Regions from separate parts of the Homo sapiens genome. Here region 2 is linked to region 1. The links are contacts of gene promoters, found by promoter capture Hi-C in blood cells and fetal thymus (Javierre and others, 2016). All regions are on one chromosome and are shown on one strand. Each heading gives the region's core, a stretch centred on a gene start or on the middle of the fragment in contact. The rest is flanking DNA. Distances are from core to core; before and after follow the strand shown. Region 1 holds the start of IFIT1 (interferon induced protein with tetratricopeptide repeats 1). Region 2 overlaps FAS (Fas cell surface death receptor).

Region 1 (7,334 bases), core at 2,124-4,623:
CCAAATGTTCACCAACTGATAGATAAAAAAATGTAATATATCCATAAAGTGGAATATTATGTAGCCATAAAAAGGAATGAAGTACTGATACATGACACAACATGGATAAACCTTGACAACACTACACTAAATGAAAAAAACTGATCCAAAAGGTCACTGTTGTATTTTTTTTTTTCCTAATTTTGTCTTGAGGTCTCTCCTGTGAGAGTGGCTACAATCTACAGCCCTGCCTTGAAAGAGCTTCAGGGTATTTGGTCATGGATATTTACAATGTGCCTTTCTTGGGATACTTCTTTATTTTGATGAACAGCCTAATGCCTAAGCGTCTGATCTATGTCTAGGTGTCCCCTTTTATAGGAAACTTGTTTATATCAGGCAGATGCCCTTGTGGTTCTTGCCTGACCTGTGTTTAGTTTATTTCTACTGAGACAGCCACTCTCTCGGAAAGCCATGACCAGTAAAGAAGAGTTTGAGTGTGTTGGTCAGGTGAAATACAAAGGAGGCAATTGAAAAAAATAGTATGTGAAATAACAGAAGCAGCTTATTACTTACAGATCCAGAGAGAAGAGGGTAATATGCCTTGCAGGGCCAATGGGAAAGGGGGAGCCATTGAGGACATGCCTGCTCAACCAGCGAGTGGGGAATGTGGGCCCAAGCCTTTATGGGAGGCCAGGGCGTTACCTAGGTGGGTTTCCTGTGGAGAGTTCTATTTGGTGGGTTTAGAGCAAGCAGGTGCAATTTTGCCAAGGGGTCATGCTGTGACTGAGAGGTGGTCACTGCAGCACATCTGCCTGGTCCATGTGGGGTGGGGGTGGGGTCAGTGGGGGCAAGTCAAATAGGTCATACCCTGCTATGCTATAGGGAAGTGGTCACCAGGAGGTAGTTATATAAAGCAGATATCTGGATCAATCACATTGAGGAACTGGAAAAAGGTGGAGAACTAGAAATTGTCTCAAGGGTGACTGAGCCCTGCTTCTGGAATGAGAAAGTCCAACTTAATATTCAAAAAGGGATGCTTAGGAAATATAAAATTATAAAAATTCAATATAACCACATAGTATGTGTTTCCATTTATATGAAATACCCACAATAGGCAAATCCATAGAGACAGAAAGCAGATTAACAGTTGCTGGGGCCTGGGGAAAGAGGCAAGTAGGGAGTGACTGCTTAATGGCTATGCAGTTTCTCCACATAGCGAGAAAAATGTTCTTGAACTAGATAGTGATGATGATTGCACAGTAGTATCATGAATATACTAAATACTACTAAATTGTATACTTTAAAGTAATTAAAATGATAAATTTTATTTTACATGTATTTTATCACAATAAAAAATCACATTGCTAACCTGAATAAAATTCAAGTTTTATATATATATATATATATATATATATATATATATATATATATATATATATTTTCCTGTAGTACATATTGACATAAACATAAAAGCAGGAAAACATAAAAGCAAATGAGTTTGCCATCTGAAATAATCACATGAGCCCCCACTGACACCCTTTGGGAAACATTGATTTAAAGGTTTAATGAAATATCATTGAATGTAGAGATCCTGATCCATATCTCAAAGCTACCACTTATTGTCTGTGTGATCTTAACATTTCTAAATCTAAGATTCCTTATTGTAAAATCAGGATCATACAGCCATGCACTGCATAATGATATTTTAGTCCACAAAGGACCACATATTTGGTGGTGGTCCTATAAGATTTTAATGCCACAATTTTGCTGTACTCTATGTTTAAATATGTTTAGATAAACAAATACTTGCCATTGTATTGCAGTTGCCTACAGTATTCAGTACAGTAACATGCTGCACAGGTTTATAGCCTAGGTGTGTAGTAGGCTATACCGTCTAGGTTTGATGTTTGCATAATGATGAAATTGCCTAACAGCTGCATTTCTCAGAGTGTATCCCCATTGTTACACGATGCATGACTGTGTAAGTACCTGCCTTATAAGTATCTTTTGAGAATTAAATGGAATAATTTACATAACACTTTTAGAAGCCAGGCTGTCACTTAATACGAATTCAAGAAGTGATAACTACCTTTATAACATTTAATATTATTATTATTTTAATTATCAGTACCAACTCCATCTGTTTACAGAGGAGGGTTCATCATAGGCCTGTAATGTGCATTTTCTGGAATTTTTACCTCTTCAAAATTTTGCCAACTGGAGCACTGAGGGGAAAATTTACAAATCAGTATTAAGTAATGGATTTTTTGTTTGTTTGTTTGTTTTTGAGACGGAGTCTCGCTCTGTTGCCCAGGCTGGAGTGCAGTGGTACAATCTCAGCTCACTGCAACTTACGCCTCCCAGGTTCAAGTGATTCTCCTGCCTCAGCCTCCCAAGTAGCTGGGACTACAGGCATGTGCCACCATGCCCAAATTTTTGTATTTTTAGTAGAGATGGGGTTTCACCATGTTGGCCAGGATGGGCTCCAACTCCTGACCTCAGGCGATCTGCTCACCTTGGCCTCCCAAAGTGCTGGGATTACAAGCATGAGCCCCCTTGCCCGGCCTAAGTAATGGTTTTTAAATCAGCTGAGAAATTCCCACATTAGGCCCTTTAGGTAAGGAAGATACGGATCTTCCCAAGCAGATGTGGATCATCTTCAGTCAAGGACGTACCAAGAGCCTAGATTTTCCAGGGAGGAGGCAATCTGTTTATCTTAAGCTCAGCCTGATTGCGAAAACCTGTTGTAAGAGGCCAGCAGTGCAGAAAGTGAGACCAGAAGCCTATGGAGGAAGGCTGTGAGCTTTTCCTACCACATCTCCACTGTATTACCCACAAGACATCAGAGAGGCTGCAAGACTGAGGCTTTCACATTCTTGTGGGTCCTGCTTTTTCTCTGTGGTAAAGAACCTGCAGAAAGCAATGCCTCTACTCAGACAAGCTGTCCATTCCTTCCCCATATCAGACAGAAGTGAATCTGATGGGAAAGAATCTCTCAGATTGGGATCATTTTCTCCCTTCCTGCAAAACTCTTTTCCCATTTCCCTCCCCTTCTTTGGGCTATAGCATGAGGTAAGCTTCCTCAAGTTCATGCTAACAAACATAAAAATGCATTAAACAATTTATGTATGTGTGAACGTGCACACACATGCATGCACACATTCAGTCCATAAGCAGATACTCAAATCGAGGAATTAGAAAACCTGACCTCACTGAGATCTAACCTGTTGAAATAGTATTTAATTACCATTTTTTCAAAAACTTTAGACATTATGGCAGAGGAGCAAAGAAATCCTTACCTCATGGTTGCTGTAAATTAGGCAGCCGTTCTGCAGGGTTTTGCTTAGCCAGGCTCCTCTGAGATCTGGCTATTCTGTCTTGTGGATTTTCAGTTACGTTTAAACCCCAAGACAGTGTTATATAAGGGAGCTAAACAGCAGCCAATGGTGTAAGCTGTGGGTGTGTCCTTGCAAGTTGGAAACCTAGGGAAACCGAAAGGGGAAAGTGAAACTAAAGCTAGCGGAATTCCTGCTGACGGGGGGGGGTGGGGAATGAAACTTTGTTTCTATTTTAAAACAGATAAACTGCAGACCTGCAACCATAGATGTTTCTAGTGCTGCAGAAACCCAATGACTGGCCAGCATTTGGAACGAGATTCACGTCCTCCCTAAAGAACATCAGTCCATTGCTGCCTATTGTGGCAGTTGGTGGCTGGATTCTGGATGAATACACAGAAAAAGGAGAATTGAAGGAGATAGCTCTATTTTCAGTTTCTATATTTAGAAGGAACCTACTATCAAATATAAAAATCTACTCTTAATTAATTGAGTAACAAGGCTTTTGGTTGCTGGTTGCTTTTTGGTTGCTTACTTTTGGTTTCAGCTTGACGGAAATAAGCAACCAATCTGGTTTAGGAATGAAGGAAAGAGACCAATACCTAGAAAGCCTTCTAACCCCTGATGACTTAGGCAGGAGGTAAAAGCAAGGAGGTATGGTTTGAAATAGAGAGCCCTCTATTGCTCCATCATGGACACTGTCATTCTGAATCAAATTCCAGTACAACCTCCACTACAGTTCATGGAATTTGAGTTTAAATAGTTAGCAACTACCTGGCACATAGAAGCATGCAAATAAGTGGTAACTATTATTATTATTATTTTCAGTCATCAAGTTAAAAATAATGATTCTTGGCTGGGTGCGGTGGCTCATGCCTGTAGTCCCAGCACTTTGGGAGGCCAAGGTGGGCGGATGACAAGGTCAGGAGATGGAGACCATCGTGGCCAACATGGTGAAACCCCCTCTCTACTAAAATACAAAAAATTAGCTGGGTGTGGTGGTGTGCACCTGTAGTCCCACCTACTCGAGAGGCTGAGGCAGGGGAATTGCTTGAACCTGGGAGGCAGAGGTTGCAGTGAGCCGAGATCACACCACTGTACTCCAGTCTGGTGACAGAGCGAGACTCCGTCTAAAAAAATAAATAAATAAAAAATAAAAAATTGTTGTCCGGGTGCATTGGCTCAGGCCTGTAAGTCCCAGTATTTTGGAAGGCAAGGCGGGAGGATCACTTGAGCCCAGGAATTGTAGACCAGCCTGGACAACATAGGGAGACCCCAACTCTACAAAAAAACTGAAAAAAAAAGCTGGGTGTGGTGGTGTGTGTCTGTGGTCTCAGCTACTCAGGAGGCTGAGGTGGGAGGCTCACTTGAGCCCAGGAGGTAGAGGCTGCAGTGAGCCATGGTCACACCACTGCACTCCAGCCTGGGCAACAGAGTGAGCCCCTGTCTCAAATAATCATAACAATATATAAAAACAATGTTTCCTTTAAAAAAACCTACCTACTTTGTCTTTTAACATAAGAAGCAGAAGAGGAGCAGGTGCAAGAGTATTTTCCTTTTGGAAACACTTAACTGGGCACACTGCCAGATCTAAACAGTTTCTGCTCAACTCCCTGCCAGACTCATCTCCCATGTCAGCTCTCACCAATTCTGTAAGCTTCCACAGAGAGTTCAACAACTAGTTAGAAAGTTCTACACAAATAAGAATTTCTGAATTAATAGGACAGGTTTTGTCTTGCACTCAGATACATGATCAGGCCATAAGCAAATGCTGAAACAGATGAATTAGAAAACATCTTTTGGGGAGCAAGATGTCTTTGGAATTCTTATGGGAAAAAATGGGTTTTCAATTTGCCAATGCACTAGATAGCATGCAGAGATATGAACAAAAAGTTTATCTTGCCATTGCTGTGAATTTGGCAGCAGTCTTGGTTCTACGGGGCTATGGCCCAGGCTGATTAGGTATTCAGAATCTTGCTTAGTGTCTCTTTGGGCTAAACAAACCCATGAGGGACACAGGATAGAACAGCATTAAGGAAAGAAAAGCCAATCGCGCGCGTGTGTGTGTGTGTTTACAGATAAAAAAGAAAATGGGAACCAGAGAGGATCAAACATTTAGAAAATGAAATTTCAGCACTAGGTTGTGAGTTCATTCCCAGGAGTCTAAGCTGGGCTCTGCAAGGGACTGACCAGTTATGATAAACTGCTTCACCTCTATGAATCTCAATTTCCTCAGCTGAGAAGTCATTTGGAATAGGTTGGCAGATCTCAACCCTCACTGCACATTAGAATCAGCCAGGTAAATCTCAAAAATAATGCTAACTATGCCCATTCCAGAACAATTGAACATATACTTAGGTACAGGCCTCTGGCTCAGTATTAAAAAGAAATCTTCAGCCTGGGCACAGTGGCTCACGCCTGTAATCCCAGCATTTTGGGAGGACAAGACGGGCGGATCACCTGAGGTTGGGAGTTCGAGACCAGCCTGACTAACATGGAGAAACCCCGTCTCTACTAAAAATACATAATTAGCCGGGCGTGGTGGCACATGCCTGTAATCCCAGCTACTCGGGAGGCTGAGGCAGGAGAATCGCTTGAACCCGGGAGGTGGAGGTTGTGGTGAGCCGAGATCGTGCCATTTCATTGCACTCCAGCCTGGGCAACAAGAGTGAAACTCCATCTCAAAAAAAAAAAAAAAAAAAAAAAGAAAGAAATCTTCAGGTGATTTTGATGTAGACCTGCGCCCTGAGCCGGGAACCAGGGCCTCAATTATCCCTAATGTCTATTGTATGTCTGAAATTCTCTGACTGAGAGATATGGGACTCAATCCCTGGACCCACTTCCTGTTCTGTGAGGCCCAGATTCAGTATTTTACGACTCAATGCCTTGTTTCCTCACCTACACAATGGGTAATGAATTCCTTAGTCTCTTCTTCATTCACAGGATGATATGGAAAAAGAATGTTATTCTGAGTGTATTTTTTAAAAATTATAATATGATAATATGGACAAATGCTAAGCCATTTCTGCTGAAGGGTCTCAAATATCCAATCACAACTTATTAAGGAATGGGCTCCATAGAAATTTCCCCTGTCTTTTCCAGGGTCATCTCTTGTAGTCTAAAATCTCTTATCAGCTTGCTAATGGCCAGGTAGAATAGGATCTAGTGATCTGGTTACCTAATGAAAAGCTGATTTCTTGTTAGAAACAAATTCAGCCCCTAGGTGGTACTACTTCCTTGGGCTTCTCTGTCTCCTCAGCAGTCCTTTCCATCAGTTTGTACTGCAGAAGTTGCTACTGTACTTGTTTTTTGGTAATCATAGTTAAATGAAGGCATTGTAGTGACATGAAAGACACACAAGATGCTTTCATGCTAGAATCATAAAAACCAAAGGCTTGACTGAATCGATCAATCCATTTCCATGTTCCTGCATCTTTGATTTTCCTCACGTTTTTCATTTAATTATAAAAGTCAGGTTTCTAGATATTTCTCTTTTTAATTTATAATTTAACATTTAACAATTGGAATATCTCTGCTAATTACATGTTATATACTCTTTTGAATGTATTCAATCACAAAGATATTTTTAGCTATAGCCTATTTTCTGAGGAATGTAATTCTCAGTGTTCTGACCACTGTATGAAAACTATTTTCTTGGCTTCTGAGATTTTTCCTAAACTACTTCCAGTCGCATCCATGGAGAGAGGACTTGGACTCCAGAAATTCTTCGTTGCAAATGATTTGATGATTTACATATCTTCTCATGAAACTTCAAGAGACCTCTCAGCCCATGATATCACTCAGCCCACCTTGACCCACAGTTTGGTTTACTGCAACCTATTCAAGTACTACTAGAATTTTTATTAGCTCATTTTTTTTTTTTTTTTACATTTCAGGCATATTTTGAAACAACTATAGACACAAGAAATTTCAGAAAAGATCCTGTGTACTTTTCATCCAAATTCCCCAAATAGTGACATCTTATATAGCTGTAGTACAATATTAAAACCAGGAAGATGA
Region 2 (7,334 bases), core at 2,693-5,192, 370 kb after region 1:
TCTATCATCCTCTTAACAGAAGTCCTCCTGCCTCCCCACTCCCAATCTTTTGACACTCAGGGGAAGCTGATCCTATGCCAGGCTCCAAGAATGGGGCCTGTGGATTAAGCCAATCGACATATCCAATTCTCCAATCATAAGTCATTAATTCAGAGGTCGCTTATGATCTAAACAGTTGAATAAGAATGGCTCTCAGCAGCAAGGAGCAGCAGGAGCAAGGGTCAGGGGAGGTGCTTGGAGGACGGGGGGCATAAGTGTCATTTCTTCTGGACTGTGATATTTAGATAGGTCGAGAATGGTTGCAGGCACCTTGTCACTACCAGTTTGGCAAGCAAATATATGAAGAGATGGACAAGAAGTAGATAAATGAAGAGGGTAGATTCAAGAAAATAACAAGGAATCTTGACTGGAGGCACTGGTTTAGGTTAGTCAAACCCACCCCATATCTGAGCATCTAGTAACATATGTCAATAAATTTCCATTTTGCTTAAGCATCTGAGGTTTTTTATTGTTGTTGTTACCATCTATCAAGGTACAGAGCTAAACACTGGTAGATACTTCATATACACTTTAATCTTCACAAAAAATAAGGAAATTAAGACTCGAAGAGATTAAGCCATTTGTTTCTACCTTTATGAGGAAAATAAATATTTGATCCCAGATCTGTATGACTCTCAATTCACCACTATCATAAGATGCAGACCTATGTGGGAAACCCTACAGTCTCTTTTCTTTTCTCCTGAGTCCTGTATTTGTCTGTTCTTGCATTGGTATAAATAACTGAGACTGGGTAATTTTTTGTTTGTTTGTTTTTTGAGATGGAGTCTCGCTCTGTCACCCAGGCTGGAGTGTAATGGCACAATCTTGGATCACTTTAACCTCTGCCTCCTGGGTTCAAGCAGTTCTCCTGCCTCAGCCTCTCGAATAGCTGTGATTACAGGTGCCCGCCACCACACCCGGCTAATTTTTTGTATTTTTAGTAGAGATGGGGTTTCACTATGTTGGCCAGGCTGGTCTCATACACCTGACCTTGTGATCTGCCTGCGTTGGCCTCCCAAAGTGCTGGAATTACAGGCATGAGTCACCGCACCCAGCCGAGACTGGGTAATTTATAAATAAAAGATGTTTAATTGGCTCATGGTTCTGGAAGCTGTACAGGAAATGTAGCTTCTTCTGCTTCTGGGAAGGCCTCAGGAAACTTACAAACATGGTGGGAGGTGAAGGGAAAGCATGCATGTCTTACATGACCAGGGAAGGAGCAAGGGTCAGGGGAGGTGGTACACACTTCTCTTTTTCTTTTTGGGATGGAGTCTCGCTCTGTTGCCCAGGCTGGAGTGCAATGGCACGATCTCAGCTCAATGCAACCTCCACCTCCTGGGTTCAAGTGATTCTCCCTGCTTCAGCCTCCATAGTAGCTGGGACTACAGACGTGTGCCACCACGCCCAGCTAATTTTTTGTATCTTTAGTAGAGACGGGGTTTCACCATGTTGGCCAGGCTGGTCTCAAGCTCCTGATCTCAGGTGATCTGCCCGCCCTAGCCTCCTAAAGTGCTGGCATTACAGGTGTGAGTCACTGTGCCCGGCCTTTGCTACACACTTCTAAAACAACCAGATCTCACAATTACTCACTCACTATCACAAGAACAGCACCAAGGGATTGGTGCTAAACCATTAATGAGAACTCCGCCCCCATGATCCAATCACCTCCAATCAGGCCCTACCTCCAACATTAGGGATTACAATTCGACATGGGATTTGGGTGGGGACACAGATCCAAACCATATCAAGTCCTGTCAAAGGGCCCTATATAACTGAAAAACAACTTGATCCTTAGTTTTAACTTAAAAATGTAAAACAAAACAAAACATTGTTTCTAGTTATCTAATGGGCCCTGGGGTTAATACCAAATTGTAAGTTCATTTCTTGAGGGCCACCTCCTACCAATCTGAGCAAATAGCAATGATACATAGAACGTCTCTAAAGGAAAATAAAAAGGCATAGCCAAGCTCAAAAATAAGATCAATCCTTTCATGGTATAAGAATGGAAACAACTACAAGATGATGACTTGTGCACAACAAGCCAAAGCTTAGTTGGATCAATGCTTGGAAGCAAAGCAAAGCCTGCTTTTAGGTTTGGTACGGAATAAATGTGCCCCACCTGAGGCAGAACAGGAACCAGGCTCCCTTCTTAAAACCACGGGCTGATGTAGAACTGTTGCAGTCTTGCCAGTGCACCACAATGTTTCAGTCTTGTTGTCTGAGGTAGTACCTGGAGTTCTTTGTCTCATGACCAAGAAAATTAAGGAGCCTGGACACAAGGGTGAGGTTGGAGTAAAAGTTTAATAATTGAAAGAAGAAAGCTCTCCGCAGCAAAGAGGAGGCTGAAAGAGGGTTGCCACTTTTACAGTTGAATCCAAAAGCTTTTATAAGAAAAAACTCCTTTCATCTCTGTAGCTGTTTGTGTAACTTCCCTTAACTGTGTAGTAGCTGTCTGTGTAACTCTCCTTACCTGTGCAGCTGCAGGTATGTCTTAGGTAAGCACAAAGTACAGCTTCTCTTGTTTATGAAACTGTGGGTATGTTTTAGGTAAGCCCCTCTCCCTGTGCAAGTTCCCATGGAGCCCATCATGTACATGTCTGAAAAGGGGAGGAAACTTTTTCCTGGGAGCCCGCTGATTATCCAAAGAACAAAGGCTTCTTTGTTAGGCCTTGCTCCCTTATCTCTGCAGCTAAAGCTAAATTTTTCCCCAGGCTGCTCTATCTGTGCCTGTAGCTTTGATTTTTTCAGGCTATTTCTCTGTTTGAAGGAGTTTTACCAAGGACCCCTCCTAACTGTCTGCCTAACCAGTTTCTTTTCCTTCTTCTCTCTCTGAACTTTCTGTCTTGTGGAAGACAGCTAAGACAGAGCTACTAAGACAGACCTACTGCCAAACACTCCCTGGGACTGTGGCTTCTAGGAAGCTACAGGCCTAAGGGTCTGAGAAGATTCGGCACAGCCTATGACCAGTGGCTGAGCCAAGCTGCCCCCAAATGCATGACTGAATCTGTGATAGTCCTGATATCACCATGATGTATGAGCCTCAAGATTATCTCAGTAAATCTTGGCTCAGAACTGGGGACTCTGGAAGAACTGGCAAAAGAACACACAGAACTATTAAATATGGAGAGATGAGTGCAGAGAGAAAAAAATGGGCTATTCAAGATAAGCCTACAAATTTCAAAAATTCATAAGGAAAATCACATGAGGAAAGCCAGCCTACAAGGTCAGCATGAAATCACTGCAGTTAAAATTAAAATAATAGAGCAACTCTAAAAAAGACTCTAAAATAACTCAGTAGGATCTTCAAGAAGGTAAATAATGGAATAAGTTATATTAAACTATGATAAATTGTCAATGAAATAAAGAAAGTGCGTTGAGCCTCAGAGAACTAAAGGGTGTGGGGTGGGGTCGGAAGTGTCTAGAGGATATACCTAAGCCCAGGCCCCACAAAGTTGTCTCTCCCCAGTGGCTGGGGTTCCCTGCCTAGGGACTGGGGAAGGAGAGGTCTAATCTTTTCAATGAAGTGATAACATTAGAGTTATGACAATAGGAGCCAGAAGCAAGGCCAGCCCTGAGCTCTCCATTCTCATGTGTTTCAGGTGGAACAAGAGAAACTGGTCCAGGCCAGGCCCCAGCCTCCTAGTGAGAGGTGACAGTGTGCTGGCAGCCCTCACAGCCCTTGCTCGCTCTCAGCACCTCCTCAGCCTTGGCGCCCACTCTGGCTGTGCTTGAGGAGCCCTTCAGCCCGCTGCTGCACTGTGGGAGCCCCTTTCTGGGCTGGCGAAGGTCGGAGCCGGCTCCCTCAGCTTGCAGGGAGGTGTGGAGGGAGAGGCATGGGCGGGAACCGGGGCTGCACATGGTGCTTGTGGGCCAGCATGAGTTCCAGGTGGGCGTGGGCTCAGCAGACCCTGCACTGGGAGCGGCCAGCCAGCCCCGCCGGCCCTGGGGCAGTGAGGGGCTTAGCACCTGGGCCAGCAGCTGCTGTGCTTGACTTCTCACCAGGCCTTAGCTGCCTCCCCATGGGGCAGGGCTCGGGACCTGCAGCCCACCATGCCCAAGCCTCCCCAACGATCACCGCCCCCTGCTCTAAGGCTCCCAGTCGCATTGACCATCCAAGGGCTGAGGAGTGCGGGAGCATGGCGCGGGACTGGCAGGCAGCTCCACCTGCAGCCCCGGTGCAGGATCCACGGGGTGAAGCCAGCTGGGCTTCTGAGTCTGGTAGGGACTTAGGGAACCTTTATGTCTAGCTAAGGGATTGTAAATACACCAATCGGCACTCTGTATCTAGCTCAAGGTTTGTAAACACACCAATCATCACCCTGTGTCTAGCTCAGGGTTTGTGAATGCACCAATCGACACTCTGTATCTAGCTACTCTGGTGGTGACTTGGAGAACCTTTGTGTTGATACTCTGTATCTAGCTGATCTAGTGGGGACGTTGAGAACTTTTGTGTCTAGCTCAGGGATTGTAAACGCACCAGTCAGCACCCTGTCAAAACGCACCAATCAGCTCTCTGTAAAATGGACCAATCGGCTCTCTGTAAAATGGACCAATCAGCAGGATGTGGGTGGGGCCAGATAACAAAATAAAAGCAGGCTGCCAGAGCCAGCAGTGGCAACTGGCCCGGGTCCCCTTCCATAGGGTGGAAGTTTTGTTCTTTCACTCTTTTCAATAAATTTTGCTGCTGCTCACTCTTTAGGTCTACACTGCCTTCATGAGCTGTAACACTCACTGCGAAAGTTTGCAGCTTAACTCCTGAAGCCAGCGAGACCATGAACCCACCGGGAGGAACGAACAACTCCAGACGGGCCGCCTTAAGAGCTGTAATGCTCACCGCGAAGGTCTGTAGCTTCACTCCTGAGCCAGCGAGACCACAAACCCACCAGAAGGAAGAAACTCTGAACACATCCGAACATCAGAAGGAATGAACTCCGGACACGCTGCCTTTAAGAACTGTAACACTCACCGTGAGGGTCCGCGGCTTCATTCTTGAAGTCAGTGAGACCAAGAACCCACCAATTCCGGACACACTAGGGCTCAGCGAGGGCAGAAGGAGGAAGGGACAGATCCAGGCACTGATCCCTTCTGCCTGCTCTGTGGGCACCTCTGCTGTACTAATAAAGTCTGTCTGCACTGCAAGAAGAAAAAAAAAAAGAGAGAAAAGGGAAAGAAGAAAGAAAATTAAAAAAAGCAGGAATGAAACATATACAAGTAAAAATGTAAAAGGAACAATAAGAAACATTAAGAATGAAAAATATAGAAAACAAAATACATACCTCAGTGGATAGACTATTCTAGCCGGGCTTAGTAAAAACTAACAGTTAATTTAAAAAGAGTAATGAGAAATTTCCTAAAATGCAACATACGGAGACAATTATTGTTTTAAAAAAAATTAAGAGACCTAGAAAATAACTCAAGAAGCTTCAACAAATAATAACAACAGTTTCAGAAGAAGAGAATGAGAATGGTAAAGAAACACTATTTAAAGAGAAAATAGCTGGGATTTTTTCCAGAAATGATGAAAGCCCTGCCTTTCTAATTAAATCTTATTAAATAGATTAAGTAAAAATAAATACACATTGAAAGTCATTGTTGTGAAACTGCAGAACACATAGGAAAGTAGTAGGGGAAGCTTTAAAAATTACCAGAGGAAAAAAAATTACAGATTACCTACAAAGGAATGATATTTACACCAAGAGCAGACATAATCAACAGCAACAGATGTTAAGAAAACATGGTTTAATATTTTTAAAGTGCTGAGGAAAATTACAAATGGCCTTGTATAGAATTCTAAACCCAAACAAATTACCAATCAGGAGTAAGCATAGAAAAAAATTCTAAATTTCATTGATTATATACCTTATTCAGATAGTTGTACAGAAACTGATGATTCAATATCTAAAAAGTGTCTGATCTAATCAGAGGTCAGAAGACCCTGTGGGCATGCCAATAAAGAAGACCAAGATGTTTGAATATGCAATGCTTTCAATGTGATCTGTGAGCTCCTTCTGCAAATAGCCTTTTTTTCTGCAGCTCATGGGTGACCTTTGGGTGATTCTCCTACCCAGTATGCCCACCACAAAGAGAACCAGGTTCACCAGAATGAGGATGATTCTGGACCGTGGGGTCACCTCAACTCGGGAATGTGGCTGTGCTCATTGACATGGGAGAAGTCATGCTTGGGGCCACTAGGTGAAGCCATGAGGAAAAAAACCACATCACCAAGTACAAAGACTTCTCCACTGTCTTCCTCCCAAAGGAACTCAAAGTTCTTGCTCTGAGTTCACCAAAGTGGAATAGGGTGTTCTCTAACTTAATCTTGTCTTGCAAAGTAGAACTTGCACTTCTGGCCATGAAGAATAACTAGTACCTAACTTGCCCTACTTCTGTCTAGAAATAGAAAACTGGAGAGCAGACAGCACAGACTATGATGGCTCAGAAAAGAGAAATTAATGAGTGAACCCTGTGATCACTCAGACTTTCTGCCTAAAGACACTTTCCAGACCATAACACAGGAGGGAACCCTAAGCAAAGCACAACTATCTTACCGACATGCTTACATGTTGAAATGCTAATACTTTGGGACTCATGGGTTAAATAGAATATATTACTAGCATTAAATTGCAGAAAAGAAAGGTGGCCCACTGGCCAGCATGTAGCTAGAATGGATAATATGCAGGAAAGAATATTTCAAAATCCTCATTTGGCTTTCTTAATAATAAAACCTACCCCTTGAAATGTATACTTTCTTATCCACATTCCAGTATCTGGAATACGAAACTGTTTGACGAATAATCATGTGCTGTTTGGAAGAGGTCTTCTTGGCAATAGCAACCTATGGAAATAATTATTTAACTACTAAAAGGGTTAAGGTTAAAAAGGAAGTACCTTCTAAGGGATCCAAGAAGCATTAAAGACAAGTTATATTTAGCATCAGTTAGAGAAAAGGAAGACAAAACCAAAAAGCAAGCCCCTACCAAAAAAGAGAAAACCAGAAATACCAAAAACATTATTTAATTACGTACTTTTACCTATATTTTATAATTCCAAACACAAGGGGCAAAAAAATCCTCCATAAATGGAAGTTCTTTAGGTGGTTCCAGGTATCTGCTTCAGTTTATAACTATCTTCACAGTTTACATTTACAGAAATATAAATATTATTTCTTAAAATTCACATTTAATACAAACTTTCAAAGATATTTAAACGTAGGATAGTAGTAAGGAGAATCTTAAATCTTAGAAACTTGGGGGTATGACAAGAGCAATTCCTAAATCCAGATGATGATTTTACCA

What was found. The method cuts DNA at HindIII sites, captures the fragments that hold promoters and counts their contacts. A CHiCAGO score of 5 or more calls a contact.
Region 2: a contact is called between a fragment that was not itself captured here and the fragment with the promoter of IFIT1 in region 1, in 1 of 17 cell types (M2 macrophages). The highest score is 5.0, in M2 macrophages.

The regions. Positions count from the first base shown.
Region 1 is chr10:89,388,662-89,395,995 of GRCh38, reverse strand. It overlaps IFIT1 (interferon induced protein with tetratricopeptide repeats 1), which reads right to left and starts at 3,373. Exons shown (of 2, transcript NM_001548.5): 1 at 3,279-3,373. The coding sequence starts at 3,283. It also overlaps a transcript of LIPA not described here. RefSeq lists enhancers at 2,644-2,693, 3,495-3,544, 3,775-3,824 and a silencer at 4,377-4,538. The HindIII fragment of the contact is 1,915 bases long and covers 3,059-4,973 here.
Region 2 is chr10:89,015,489-89,022,822 of GRCh38, reverse strand. It overlaps FAS (Fas cell surface death receptor), which reads right to left. Exons shown (of 9, transcript NM_000043.6): 9 at 5,764-7,334. Among named protein-coding and RNA genes, the nearest start is that of FAS-AS1, 26 kb to the right of the region's middle. The HindIII fragment of the contact is 3,040 bases long and covers 2,423-5,462 here.